2 separate regions of the Homo sapiens genome follow, and region 1 is linked to region 2. The links are contacts of gene promoters, found by promoter capture Hi-C in human tissues and cell types (Jung and others, 2019). All regions are on one chromosome and are shown on one strand. Each heading gives the region's core, a stretch centred on a gene start or on the middle of the fragment in contact. The rest is flanking DNA. Distances are from core to core; before and after follow the strand shown.

What was found. Contacts are between HindIII fragments. The study calls those that stand out against the background at their distance.
Region 1: a contact is called between a fragment that was not itself captured here and the fragment with the promoter of AMACR in region 2, in 2 of the 25 tissues and cell types used here (IMR-90 fibroblasts and mesendoderm cells).

The regions. Positions count from the first base shown.
Region 1 is chr5:33,555,729-33,562,535 of GRCh38, reverse strand. ADAMTS12 (ADAM metallopeptidase with thrombospondin type 1 motif 12) reads left to right here. Exons shown (of 24, transcript NM_030955.4): 20 at 1,357-1,509. Among named protein-coding and RNA genes, the nearest start is that of TARS1, 120 kb to the right of the region's middle. The HindIII fragment of the contact is 6,851 bases long and covers 1,539-6,807 here.
Region 2 is chr5:34,004,870-34,011,265 of GRCh38, reverse strand. AMACR (alpha-methylacyl-CoA racemase) reads left to right here and starts at 3,216. Exons shown (of 5, transcript NM_014324.6): 1 at 3,216-3,493; 2 at 5,367-5,510. The coding sequence starts at 3,247. It overlaps C1QTNF3-AMACR (C1QTNF3-AMACR readthrough (NMD candidate)), which reads left to right. Exons shown (of 9, transcript NR_037951.1): 7 at 5,367-5,510. RefSeq lists a silencer at 3,000-3,079. The HindIII fragment of the contact is 16,164 bases long and covers 1-6,396 here.

The sequences.
Region 1 (6,807 bases), core at 3,715-6,214, 450 kb after region 2:
ACCCTGTCTTTTTTTTTTAGTTCAGCACTTTGTTTTGCTCATCCAGAAACAGCCCCTTTTAGTGAGGATGAGCAGGGGAGAGGGGATGCAAGAAAAATCAGTTACAGGAAAGAATCAGGCACACAAAAGGGAACAAATTTTGTGATGGACATTTTCATGGTTTTCAAAGTGACCCCCCGCTAAACCTGAGATATTTAAGAATTATAAACAAACAAAAACACTTTGAGGGGAATGAGCTGTATGTGTGGCAAAGGCGACTGAGTTCTTCACCACCAGTGGATTGAGGGATGAAAAGCATCATGCTGTAACATCTTTCTAACTCCGAGTGTGATCTGAGGACCAACAGCATCAGCAGCACCTGGGAGCTTGCTAAAAGGCACAATCGCCTCCCCTCCCCAGACCTACTGAATCAGAATCTGCATTTAGCAAGGTCCCCAGGTGATTCATATGGTCCCTAAAGTTTGAGGAGCACTACTGTAACAAATATTTTCCTGGGTTTTAGAGACAGAAAACCCTTTGGGCAGGTCAGCTCTCAAAGCCTGTTTCTTCATCTACACCATAATGATACCAGACTACAACTCAGGTTTGTCATGGAGAGAAATAGGTGAGATAGTATCATTCAGTGTTAGGGAGGAGAGGCAAGGGGCAGACACCTGGACCTGACATCCACTCTGAACAGCATTGGTAGGAAATGTGGCAGCTTGCCTGCAGCCCCCTGGGCAATCATGCCAAGATAATTAATGTTGTTTTCTTTTGAGACAGGATCTCACCCTGGCACCTAGGCTGGAGTGCAGTGGTGCAATCATAGCTCACTTCAGCTTCAAATTCCCAGGTTCAAGCAGTCCTAGCAACTCAGCCTCCTAAGTAGCTGGGAATGCAAGTATACACCACCACACCTGGCTAATTTTTAAATTTCTTTAGAGATGGGTTCTCCCTATGTTGCCCAGGTGATCTCAAACTCCTGGGCTCAAAGGATCCTCCTGCCTCAGCCTCCCATAGTGTTGGGATTAAAGGCATGAGCCACTGCCCCTGGCCTGCCAGGATAAGTTTTAAAGGGAAGCAAATTTCCATTTGCATTGAATTTTCCTTCTACATGCAAATCAAGGTTTCTCAACCGTGACTATTTTTTAAAATAAGCTGGGGAATTATTTTTAATACTGAGCATCCCCGGGTCCTACCCCAAGAGATTCAGATTAATTTGTGTGAGTGGGGTGCCCCAAGTGTTGGTAATTTTTAAAAAGCTCTGTGGGCAATGTTAGCAAACGGGACTGAGAACTGACTCCAGGATCCCAGTGATGGGGCATGTGTGAGAAGGTGACACTCAGCCTCTGTCATCTCTCTCCTTCCCTGCTACAGTGCTCCACCACATGTGGCCTGGGGGCCTACTGGAGAAGGGTGGAGTGCAGCACCCAGATGGATTCTGACTGTGCGGCCATCCAGAGACCTGACCCTGCAAAAAGATGCCACCTCCGTCCCTGTGCTGGCTGGAAAGTGGGAAACTGGAGCAAGGTAACTTATCAGGCTTGGCAGAGTCTTGGAGGTAGAGAAGGTGGGGATGGGTTGGAAAGGGAATCTTATATAAACACTTGCTAAAGTCGTTTTTTTTTTTTTTCTTTTTCTTAATTAAAGTTCTAGGGTACATGTGCACAACGTTCAGGTTTGTTACATATGTATACATGTGTCATGTTGGTGTGCTGCACCCATTAACTCGTCATTTACATTAGGTATATCTCCTAATGCTATCCCTCCCCCCTCCCCCCACCCCACAACAGGCCCCGGTGTGTGATGTTCCCCTTCCTGTGTCCATGTGTTCTCATTGTTTAATTCCCACCTATGAGTGAGAACATGCGGTGTTTGGTTTTTTTCCTTGTGATAGTTTGCTGATAATAATGGTTTCCAGCTTCATCCATGTCCCTACAAAGGACATGCACTTATCATTTTTTATGGCTGCATAGTATTCCATGGTGTATATGTGCCACATTTTCTTAATCCAGTCTATCATTGCTGGACATTTGGGTTGGTTCCAAGTCTTTGCTTTGTGAGTAGTGCCGCAATAAACATACGTGTGCATGTGTCTTTATAGCAGCATGATTTATATTCCTTTGGGTATATGCCCAGTAATGGGATGGCTGGGTCAAACGGTATTTCTAGTTCTAGATCCCTGAGGAATCGCCACACTGACTTCCACAATGGCTGAACTAGTTTGCAGTCCCACCAACAGTGTTTTTTTTTCTACCTTTCTGCTGCCCTTTTACCTCTTATAAAATCAGGGATGAGCAAATCATGGGCATTACCATAGGCCAACTTCAAGTTACACAAAAGTCTTAGAAGTACAGAGTTTTTATTAACCCACATGTGGTAACCCACCTGTCCTTTCTCTTACAAGATAAACCAGAAAAGTTAAGTTTGGGTTATTAATTGCTTCTCCAGCATGCAATGCTATTTCTATATTACTTCAATTTAGCATTTTAATGAATAATCCTATATTATCACGGATATAATTAAATCATGAATCACCTGTGCTTTACAAAGCGAATATATGGCTTAATCTTCCAGACCCAAAATGAAACAAAAGCTGAGATATAAAGAATAATTTGTTCTTTAAAAGCGTACTCCCTGCACTGATCTTCTTATTTATTTTTATTTTTATTTTTTTGAGATGGAGTCTCACTTTGTCACCCAGGCTGAAATGCAATGGCGTGATGTTGGCCCACTGCAACCTCTGCCTCCCGGGTTCAAGCGATTCTCGTGCCTTAACCTCCGGGTAGCTGGGATTACAGGCATGCACCACCATACCAGGCTGATTTTTGTATTTTTAGTAGAGATGGGGTTTCACCATGTTGGCCAGGCTGGTCTCGAACTCCTGACCTCAAGTGGTCCGCCTGCCTTGGCCTTCCAAAGTGCTGAGATTGCAGGCGTAAGCCACCACACCCAGCCATACTGATCTTTTTAAAGTGCAATTTTACCATCTTTGCTAATCTTACTGTGATTACTCATTTTGCTGTGCTGTCTCCATAGTTCCTTGTGAAAAGAACGTATCAGGTTTTCAGATTAGTTAGCCTTGGTGCTTTGAGACACTAACTAGGCCTAATCTGCTTGTCACGCTGGACTAGGGCTTAACCAGTTCTTGGGGGATAATTCAGGGCTATAAGGCACTGGTCAGTGGTGAGATTGAGGGCCAGTTGGCAGGTAGAGAGTACAGAGGTGTGAGCTGTGCATATACCTGTTTGCCATACATGATCAACCCTAGGAAGCCTGGTAGGCCCCTGTCTTCTCTCCAGGGAGCTGGTTCCTCTTGATAGCTGAGACACAGGAGAAAGGAAAAGAAAGAGCTACCCAAGAGGTTTAGGGAAGCTGATGTCACCTCTAGACATTTGTTTCTTCATCTAGTGAAGAGCTCATGTCCCCAGACAGACAGGACCCAGAGGTGTTGCAATGGGCATTTCTGTCTCTGGTTCTCCTGGCAGACTTACCATCAGACAGGAACATGGGAGGCTACTGTCTGATGGTCGGTCTTTCGGACCCTTTCCCAAAGCAAGGCTCTGGTCTTTGGAAGAGAGGGGTTGTGAGGCTACTCCTTGAGAAAATTACCACCTTCTTTCTCTTTCTATATAATTTTTCTTTCAAGAATCGATACTGGTCTTTTTTATTTCTCTTCCAACTCATAACAAACTCAGGATCTGAAAAGGACTGAAAGTTTGGCTACAACTTCTCTTCCATATCCAGAGAAATCTCAAGAAACATCTCATATCCCTGAGCTTGCCAAATGTTGACCAAGTCCTAAAGTTCCACTTTCCTGTCACTGGGAATAATCATTTCATTGGAAATTACATGACTCATGAAAAGGAAAGATGTGTGAAATAGCTTGTGTTTTGAAAAGGTCAGCTCCAGCCTGAGGGAGTCTAGCCAGTGCAAACTCTGGATGAAAGATTAGCAAGCTCATCTCTGGGGTCCGGCCTCCTAAGGAAAGCCTGGCTTGACTCCTTGCCTGGCCTATAGGGTCTCTCATGCCCCTCTCTCTCTCTCTTTCATGGCCTTTAGGGTTGCAGATATATTGATTAATCTCTGTAGTGCCCTGAGTGGTTTTGTAGGAGTTGTTTCTGACACATCATCAAATTCAGCTAGAATGAGGTAACTACTATATCTAAAATATAATCCTCAAAATTACTGTATTCCTACCAGTAAAGAAAGTGTCTCTTTTATTAGATAATAGATAAACCTTATATCAAAGATGCTATTTAACTACTGATGGTCAGTTGCCCTGATTTTTGTTTTTTCTGACCACTATTATGGGTATTGCATACATCAGCAGTCCCTAACCTTTTTGTCACTAGAGACCAGTTTTGTGATCTCTACAAAATTCTTTTTCCACGGACTGGGGGAATGGTTTTGGGATGATTCAAGCACATTACATTTATTGTGCACTTTATTTCTATTATTATTACATTGTCATATATAATGAAATAATTATAAAACTCACCAAAATGTAGAATCAGTGGGAGCCCTGAGCTTGTTTTCCTGCAACTAGATGGTCCTATCTAGGGGTGATGGGAGACAGTGACAGATCATCAGGCACTAGATTTTCATAAGAAGTGTGCAACCTATATCCCTTGCATGCACAGTTCACAATAGGCTTTGCATCCCTATGAGAATCTAATGCTGCTGCTGATCTGACAGGAGGTCGAGCTCAGGCAGTAATGTGAGCAATGGGGAGCAGCTGTAAATACAGATAAAGCTTTGCTTGCTCGCCCGATGCTCACCTCCTGCTGTGCAGCCTGGTTCCTAACAGGCTGAGATATAACAGACTGGGGGATTGGGGATCCCTGGCATACATGGCTTGTCTTTCCTAGAGATATTAACTTAAATCTTGATTATTGAGACCCCTTTTTCTAATTAATTTTTTTTTGAGATGGGGTCTCACTTTGTCACCTAAGCTGGAGTGCAGTGGCCCACTCACAGCTCACTCCAGCCTCAACCTCCTGGGCTCAAACAATACTCCTGCCTTAGCTTCAAGTAGTTGGAGACCCCTTTTTCATATGGATGTCTAAAGTCCAAATCATGTGCTAAGAAAGATTTGAAGGCCTTCCCTCTGAGCTTCGCTAATTCTGATAGGCCTTTTATGCTCTCTTTGTGGCAGACCTTCAAAATCCAGAGCAGGAAAGAGGATCCCTGGTTTTGCCTTTAAATATCCAGAGAGTTTAGATTCTGCCGAACTGATCATTTGCCTTTTCACAGATACTTTCTCAGAAAGAAAAATTCTAATTTTACCTGGAATTTTCTACATTATTCCAGCAATCTCTCCTCCAGATCCAGAAACACTTTAATTCTCATAGGATGACAGGGTATGTTGCAGCCTCACCTGAACCCACAGGTATCATACCTGAGGCATCCAGGTTACTCACCAGGAACTTCTACCACTGTGATTGCTGTCTGGATTGCAATTGTTTTACTGGCTTATTTCTCTCATACCATTCTTCTTGATGAAGCCTGATAGAACTGCTGTGAACATTTTCTCATATACATATGTCAGGTTCATGACTACACCAAAGGTCATGTTGCAGTCTGAAGGGAGTGGGTGGATGAGCAGAAAGAACACTCGGGGGCCACAGGCTGGTGAAAGATTATTTTATTCAGCAGCAACTCTCATCAGCAGCTTTTTCACACTGTCCGCCCCATCTGGGCTGCTTAGTCCGGCTCCCACACACAGCTGCATGGCTGGCTTTCCCTTGCTTTCAGGGTCAGCAGGTTAACTCTTTCTTTCTCTCTGGGCATGAGTGAGCCGAGCTGTGTCCTGGCTCCCCTCTGTCCATCTTTGCAGATGGACAACTTTGGCTCTCTCTCTTTCTCTTGGTGCAGTGTGACCACACTGTGTCAAACAGGGCAGTTATACCTTTTACAGACAACAGTGGCTTAGAGCCAAGTGATGGCCTTCCCACGTTATGGCTCCATGACTGTGATAACAAGTGGAGTTACACACCTGCACTCTAAACTTGCTGAGTCACACAGGATGTAAACATCCTACCTCGGCCTATCCTTCACCAAAGCACAGCCATGTTCCTTACAACATGACAGAGGACTGAGACATTCAGATCTCTACCTTTCCAGTGTCTGCAAGTAGTTTATCACAGTGGCTTTCCTCCTCTTCGTGCATTAATCTGTCTGAAACAAAATCAAGGTTGTCATCCTCAGGTTTCTCCCAGAGGCAGTCTTGGAAAAATGCAATTATGCAGTATTGAATCCCAGAGGGGTCTGACTTGGAATCAGATGTATCTGGCATGATAACCTACTCTGTCATTAATCTGTATGTGACACTGGCCATTCATCTAACTACTTAGGAGCTTTAGTTTTCTCACCCCTGAAATGAAGTGGATGATATTGCCTCTACTTACTTTGTAGAGGTTGTTATAAGGATCAAAAGAGAAAATGTGTGCAATGAACTCTGTTCATGATAAAAGACTAAACAAGGCCCTGGACAAACGTCGAGCTCTAGGTAAAGTTAGGGCTGGCTATTGGACATTGACTAATCTCTTGTTTCCTGGACTTAGGGCAAGAGGCCTGTGGACAGGTTAGTGAAGTAAGCCCTGCCAATGGAGAAACTGGCCTGAGAAGGTGTTCACTCCCCAGTACTACACAGTCAGGGTGCTCAAAGTGTTCCTGAACTCTGGAGGACTTGACCTACTGTGGGTGGTAGTACTGCCACGTGTCTGACATTGCATGGAAGCTTTGGATAAACAATTTTATTTTTACCATAATACAGGACTTTATAATTTCCACTAAGGAAACTAGGGCTTAGAGTATTTAAATCAC
Region 2 (6,396 bases), core at 1,967-4,466:
GTTTATAGGTGTACCCCACATCCAGATAACTTTTCAAGATTTTTTTTTTTTCAAGACAGAGTCTTGCTCTGTCGCCCAGGCTGGAGTGCAGTGGCACGATCTCAGCTCACTGCAAGCTCCGCCTCCCTGGTTCAAGTGATTCTCCTGTCTCAGCCTCCCTGGTAGCTGGGATTACAGACGCGCACCACCATGCCCAGCTAATTTTCATATTTTCAGTAAAGACGGGGTTTCACCAATTTTTCAAGTTTTTTGTAGAGATGGGGTCTCACTGTGTTGCCCAGGCTGGTTTCGAACTTCTGGCCTCAAGTGATCCTGCTGCATCAACCCCCCAAAATGCTGGGATCACAGGTGTGAGCCACTGCATCTGGCCACTATTTTGAAATATACCATATACTGTTGTTAACTATAGTCACCCAACTGTGCCATCAAATACTATTATTTAGCTATTATTTATTCCTTCTAACTACATGTTCATACCCATTATCCAATCTCTTTTCATCTCTGCCCCCCCATCATTCTACTCTTTATGAGATTAAATTTTTAACTCCCACATCTGAGTGAGAACGTGTGATACTTTTCTTTCTGTGTCTAGTTTATTTCACTTGACATAATGACCTCGAGTTCCATCCATGTTGCTGCAGATGACAGGATTTCATCCTTTTTTTATGACCAAACAATATTTCATTGTGTATATGTACACATTCTCTTTGTCCATTCATCCAGTAATGGACACTCAAGTTGATTCCATATTTTGGCTATTGTGAATAGTGCTGCAATAAACATGTGGGTACAGGTGTTCCTTTGACATACTGATTTCTCTTAAGATTTTTATCAAGACAATATGTGCACAGCTGAACATAGACCCTTATCAGGAGTTTTTGATTTTGCCTTTTGCCTTGTGATCTTTATTGGCCTCAGAAGCATGTGATCTTTGTTCTTCTTGTTTGCCCTTTGAAGCATGTGATCTTTGTGACCTACTCCCTGTTCTTAAACCTCCTCCCCTTTTGAAATCCTTAATAAAAACTTGCTGGTTTTGCGGCTCAGGTGGGCATCACGGACCTACCAATATGTGATGTCACCCCTGGTGGCCCAGCTGTAAAATTCTTCTCTTTGTACTCTTTCCCTTTATTTCTCAGACTGGCCGACACTTAGGGAAAATAGAAAGAACCTATGTTGAAATATTGGGGGCGGGTTCCCCCGATACTTTTGGACATATATCCAGTAGTGGGACTGCTGGATCATATAGAAGTTCTATTTTTAGTTTTCTCACAAACCTCCATACTGTTTTCCATAATGGCTAAACTAATTTACATTCCTACCAACAGTATATATAAGTTCCTCTTCTCTGCGTCTTTGCCAGCATTTGTTATTTTTTGTCTTTTTGATAATAGCCAGTCTAACTGAAGTAAGATGATATCTCATTGTGGTTTTGATTTGCATTTCCCTGATGATTAGTGATGTTGAGCATTTTTTCATATACCTGTTGGCCATTTGTATGCCTTTTGAGAAATGTCTGTTCAGATCCTGTGCCCACTTTTTAATGAGATTATTTCATTTTTTGCTGTTGAGTTGTTTGAGTTTCTTGTATAGTCTGCATATTAGTCACTTGTTGGATGAATAATTTGCAAAATATTTTCTTCTATTCAATAAGTTGTTTATTCTGTTGTTTCTTCTGTTGTGCAGAAGATTTTTAGTTTAATATAGTCCCATTTGCCTATTTTTTGTTTTTGTTGCCTATGCTTTTGAAGTCTTAGTCATAAAATCTGTGCCTAGGTCAATGTCCTGAAGTGTTTTATCTGTTTTCTTATAGTAGTTTTATAGTTTTGGGTTGTATGTCTTAAGTTTTTTAATCCATTCTGAGTTGATTTTTGTGTATGGTGAGGGATAGGGGTCTAGTTTCATTCTTCTGCATATGGATTTCCAGTTTTTCCAGCACTACTTATTGAATAGAATGTCCTTAATATATGTTCTTGGTGTTTTTATTGATAATCAGCTGGCTGTAAATATATGGATTTATTTTGGGGTTCTTTATTCTGTTCCATTGGTCTTTGTGTCTATTTTATGCCAATAGAATGCTGTTTTGGTTACTACACCTTGGTAGTATAATTTGAATTCTGGTAGTGTGTTGCTTCCTGCTTTGTTCTTTTTGTTCAGTGTTGCTTTGGCTATTCAGGACCTTTTGTGGTTTTATACAATTTTTTTTTCTATTTCTATGAAGAGAAAGCCACAGAGTCCTAAAATAATTCTAAAACTCATCATGACTTTCTTGCCTAAAAGATCTTGATTTCAATCGTGCCTAGTTTTGCTTTAATCACTTGCTTGAGAAATACATAAATCCCCACTTAAGATTAGTGCAGGCATATCTCTGGCACCCATTTCTGGTTCTATTAAAATTCCTAGAGATGTCAAAAATTACATTAGGCCACCTGACAGGCTATACCTAGAAGAGAAAAAATGATTTGTAAAAGCAGTGGGGCTATTTGCGATTGCTTTTTTTTTTTCTTAAATATCACCTATTAGGTTGAAAACCTGAAATTGCAGCTTTCTGTAGAAATGGCGGAAGACAAACTAACATTTTTAAAGCGCTCTCATTTAGCTCTGATGAGTACTACACCCCTGATATTCTTCTGATACTAAAATAATTTTCCTAGTGTAGTCTAAACTTTTTTAAAAAGACATGTAATCCGCGGAGTTTGTAACTCAAAACGAGTGCATCTAGGAGGTATCGCAAGCCGTTTCTGGATTAAATTCCCAGCTAGCTAGCTAGCTAAGCAGGGGCGGTGAAGAAGACAATCTGCAGCCTAGGGAAGAAAACGCTTTCGCATTGTTCTTACGTGTTTACGTTATTTTATTTCCCTAGAGCAAGGCAGGAGTAGGGACTCGAATGGTACAGTTGGGCTGGGGATCGCCCTGGTACAATAAAAGCGTCCAGAGAGGACGGTAACAGGCAGGAGCTCCAAAGGTCAGTCCCTGCAATTTAAGACTCAGGAATTTAGGTTGCACAAAAAGGAAAGCAACCTACTGCATTTGGCACTGGCGGTCCCGGGAGGCCGGGGGTGGGGAAGCGCCCAGTGCGCAGACTCCGCGGGCTTGCGCAGGCCCGCAAAAGAGGGACGGGGGTGGTGCCTTTGGGGCGCGGCGCCGCGGCTGGGGGCGTGGCGCCGGGGATTGGGAGGGCTTCTTGCAGGCTGCTGGGCTGGGGCTAAGGGCTGCTCAGTTTCCTTCAGCGGGGCACTGGGAAGCGCCATGGCACTGCAGGGCATCTCGGTCGTGGAGCTGTCCGGCCTGGCCCCGGGCCCGTTCTGTGCTATGGTCCTGGCTGACTTCGGGGCGCGTGTGGTACGCGTGGACCGGCCCGGCTCCCGCTACGACGTGAGCCGCTTGGGCCGGGGCAAGCGCTCGCTAGTGCTGGACCTGAAGCAGCCGCGGGGAGCCGCCGTGCTGCGGCGTCTGTGCAAGCGGTCGGATGTGCTGCTGGAGCCCTTCCGCCGCGGTGAGCCCGGGCCCCGCGGGCTGCTCTCGGGAAGTTCCCGCGGAGGGGAGGGGCCTGGCCGTTCGATCGAGGCTGCACCCGCCACACCTTTGCCCTGTTGCCGCAAGAACCCTTGTCGGCCCCAGCCTTCCAGATTTTTGCCTCCTAGGGTATTGTTAGTGATCATTCTTCCCAAACTGGATTGTCCAAAACTTGGGTTCTGAGATACTGCTGTTGCCCGGTTTCTCCTTTTGCCTCTCTGACTCCTTCCCAAATTCCTCCTTTTTTTTCTAAGAAACGTTCCGTATTTGCCTTTCTTAATTAATTGAGGGTCTTGAACCCTGTGAGAATCTAATGAAAGCCATAGGATTCCCTTCCTGGAAAACTGCATATAGGCGGTCATTCGGCTACCGTTTTGGAGTGCTGTACCCTCAAGCCATCCACGGGCCCAGGCTAACGCTCCTCCCTGCCTGAAATGCTGGCGTTCTAAGTCTCAGCATCTGCTCCCTGAAGCCCAGTTACCCATTCCCATCATTTTCACCTTTTTGTAGACTTCCCCCTTTCAGAGCGGCAGACGCTGGCATACACAGGTCCTGGGCATCGCCGTCAAGGCTGCCCGCCAGGCAGCTTCCACAAATCCCAAAATGAGCCTTTCCTTCTTCCTTCTAAAACAGCATCTCCACCTTCTGTATTATTTATTTCAGTGAATGCCTGAATCTCAAACTTGTACTTCATCATGGACTCCAGTCTTCCTTTCACATCCAATTTCAATGATCATCAATACAGTCATTTTGCTCCTTAGCCCACTCGGACTATTTCTCTCCATACCTGCTGCAACTGCCTTGACACTGGTGTGACAGCCTTTTAAAAACTGGTGTTTGGGGCTGGTATCACTCCAGTGGATTCTCAGACAGCTGCCAGAATAACTTTGTTCAAGTAGAAATCCAAAGCATTGCCTGGTCTATAGTGGGAAATCGGTAAATGGTGAATGAATGAATGCCTACGGCACAGCCGGCTTATTTAAATGCGTTAACTCATTTAACCCTCACAGCTGTATTTGAGGCTTGTAACAATAATGATTTAATAATTAAGATTATGTAATAATTTAAGAATGCTCCATTTAAGATGAGGGAGGCTTGTCCAAGGTCTTGTAATTAGGAGGAAGGTCGGCTGGGAATACGGATATAGCCTCCGGGTGAGGAGTTGTGACTGGTGTTTAGGTAGATGACTAGAGGTTTTCTGTGATTTATTTTAGCCTTAGGAAGGTAAAGATAGTGAGTTTATTATGTAATTTTGATTACTTTTAATCCCAGGAAATTTCAGGTGCTGGTTACCTGGGGTTTGTGCTATAAATACTATACTTGTTGATAGCTTAAAAACTCTCAGGTGCTATTGTCACTAACCACTCTTTCTACAGATGGGTGCTAAACTTTTTCGTGAAGGTACTGATGCTAGGCACTTTAGCGCCTGTGGAAACATCAGGTGTAAATTCTGCAGGAGGAGCTCATGAGCTGATAGGGAAGATAAGTGTATGCATGTACAAGCAAGTGCAGCTAAGGTGGGATGTGGTAAACACTGATGCGGTATAGAAAAAGAGAAAAGGGATTTACTAAAGGGATGAGACCCTGCTCTGGGGATTGAATAAATAGGCTTGGATAAACCTAGAGGGAAACAGAGATGTACTGGGAGAAATTACATCCTGGGAAGAAGCCACACATTCCAGAAATGGTGGCTTCACTCTTTGAGTCCTTAACTGCTGTAAACATGCCATTAGCCTACAGCAAATGTTATTAATATTACTTGCAATGGTGCTATTTTATGTTTGTCTCAGAGAAGGGATTATCTCCATCCTCAATTCATACTCTCTTAAGAAGATCGTTACTTTTCTCTTAAGGTGTCATGGAGAAACTCCAGCTGGGCCCAGAGATTCTGCAGCGGGAAAATCCAAGGCTTATTTATGCCAGGCTGAGTGGATTTGGCCAGTCAGGAAGCTTCTGCCGGTTAGCTGGCCACGATATCAACTATTTGGCTTTGTCAGGTATGTTGAAAAAAAATTTAGTCTACACTTTTAATTTATTCCATCAAGATCTACAGGTATGTTGATTAACAATAATTTGTAAAGGTAAAAATTTAAACATTTATCAGAATCAATCAAGAGAGCATGGGTGTTCAAAATGGATCGGTTTGAGTCTTGAAACAATCATTCTCAACCTTCCCTCACCCCATCCCTTAACAGGTTGGAAGGTTAATACATGCCCACTACTATCATTTATTTACTACATTTGTTGAGTCAATTCTCAGACAAACCCCTGCTAGGAATTAAGAGGCTTACTGGGTACTACGGATGGTTGCTCTGTGGTTTGAAAATGTTGACATAGTTAGATTCTGACAGCTACTTCTCCCCCGGACCCCGAAATCTCCACCCACCATATTGAGAATCATTGCCTGAGTCATTGTTTCAGACTTCTATGAGCACTAAAAAAAGCCCATGGTTTTCAGGTCCTAATATCACTTTATTAGAGTTTTTGCCTGTGACGACATGTGAGATAGGCCTGATTCCAGAATTCTAAGAACCATGTGTTGTTGACTATAGGACATTTCAGATTTTCTGTGAGTACACATTTAAAAGTTGAGGAAAGAAGTGGGTATAGAATTGTCTCTTCACATCTACTTAAAAATTAAATTCCTTTTTTTTCTTGTCTGCAAGTATTTTCTTACATTTCTTTATGCTAAGAATGAAAGTGCATTTACTGTTTTAAAACCACAAAATAAATAATCATTTTCTTTTCCAAAAGTAAGTGAGTAAAAACTTAGCAATATTTGAAAATGTTGGTTGGAATAGGTTTTAGAGAGGAAAACAACAAAACAAGGATCCTGTCTTGAGGGAAAGCCTGTTTATGAGTTTACTGACTAAGCTCAGATTT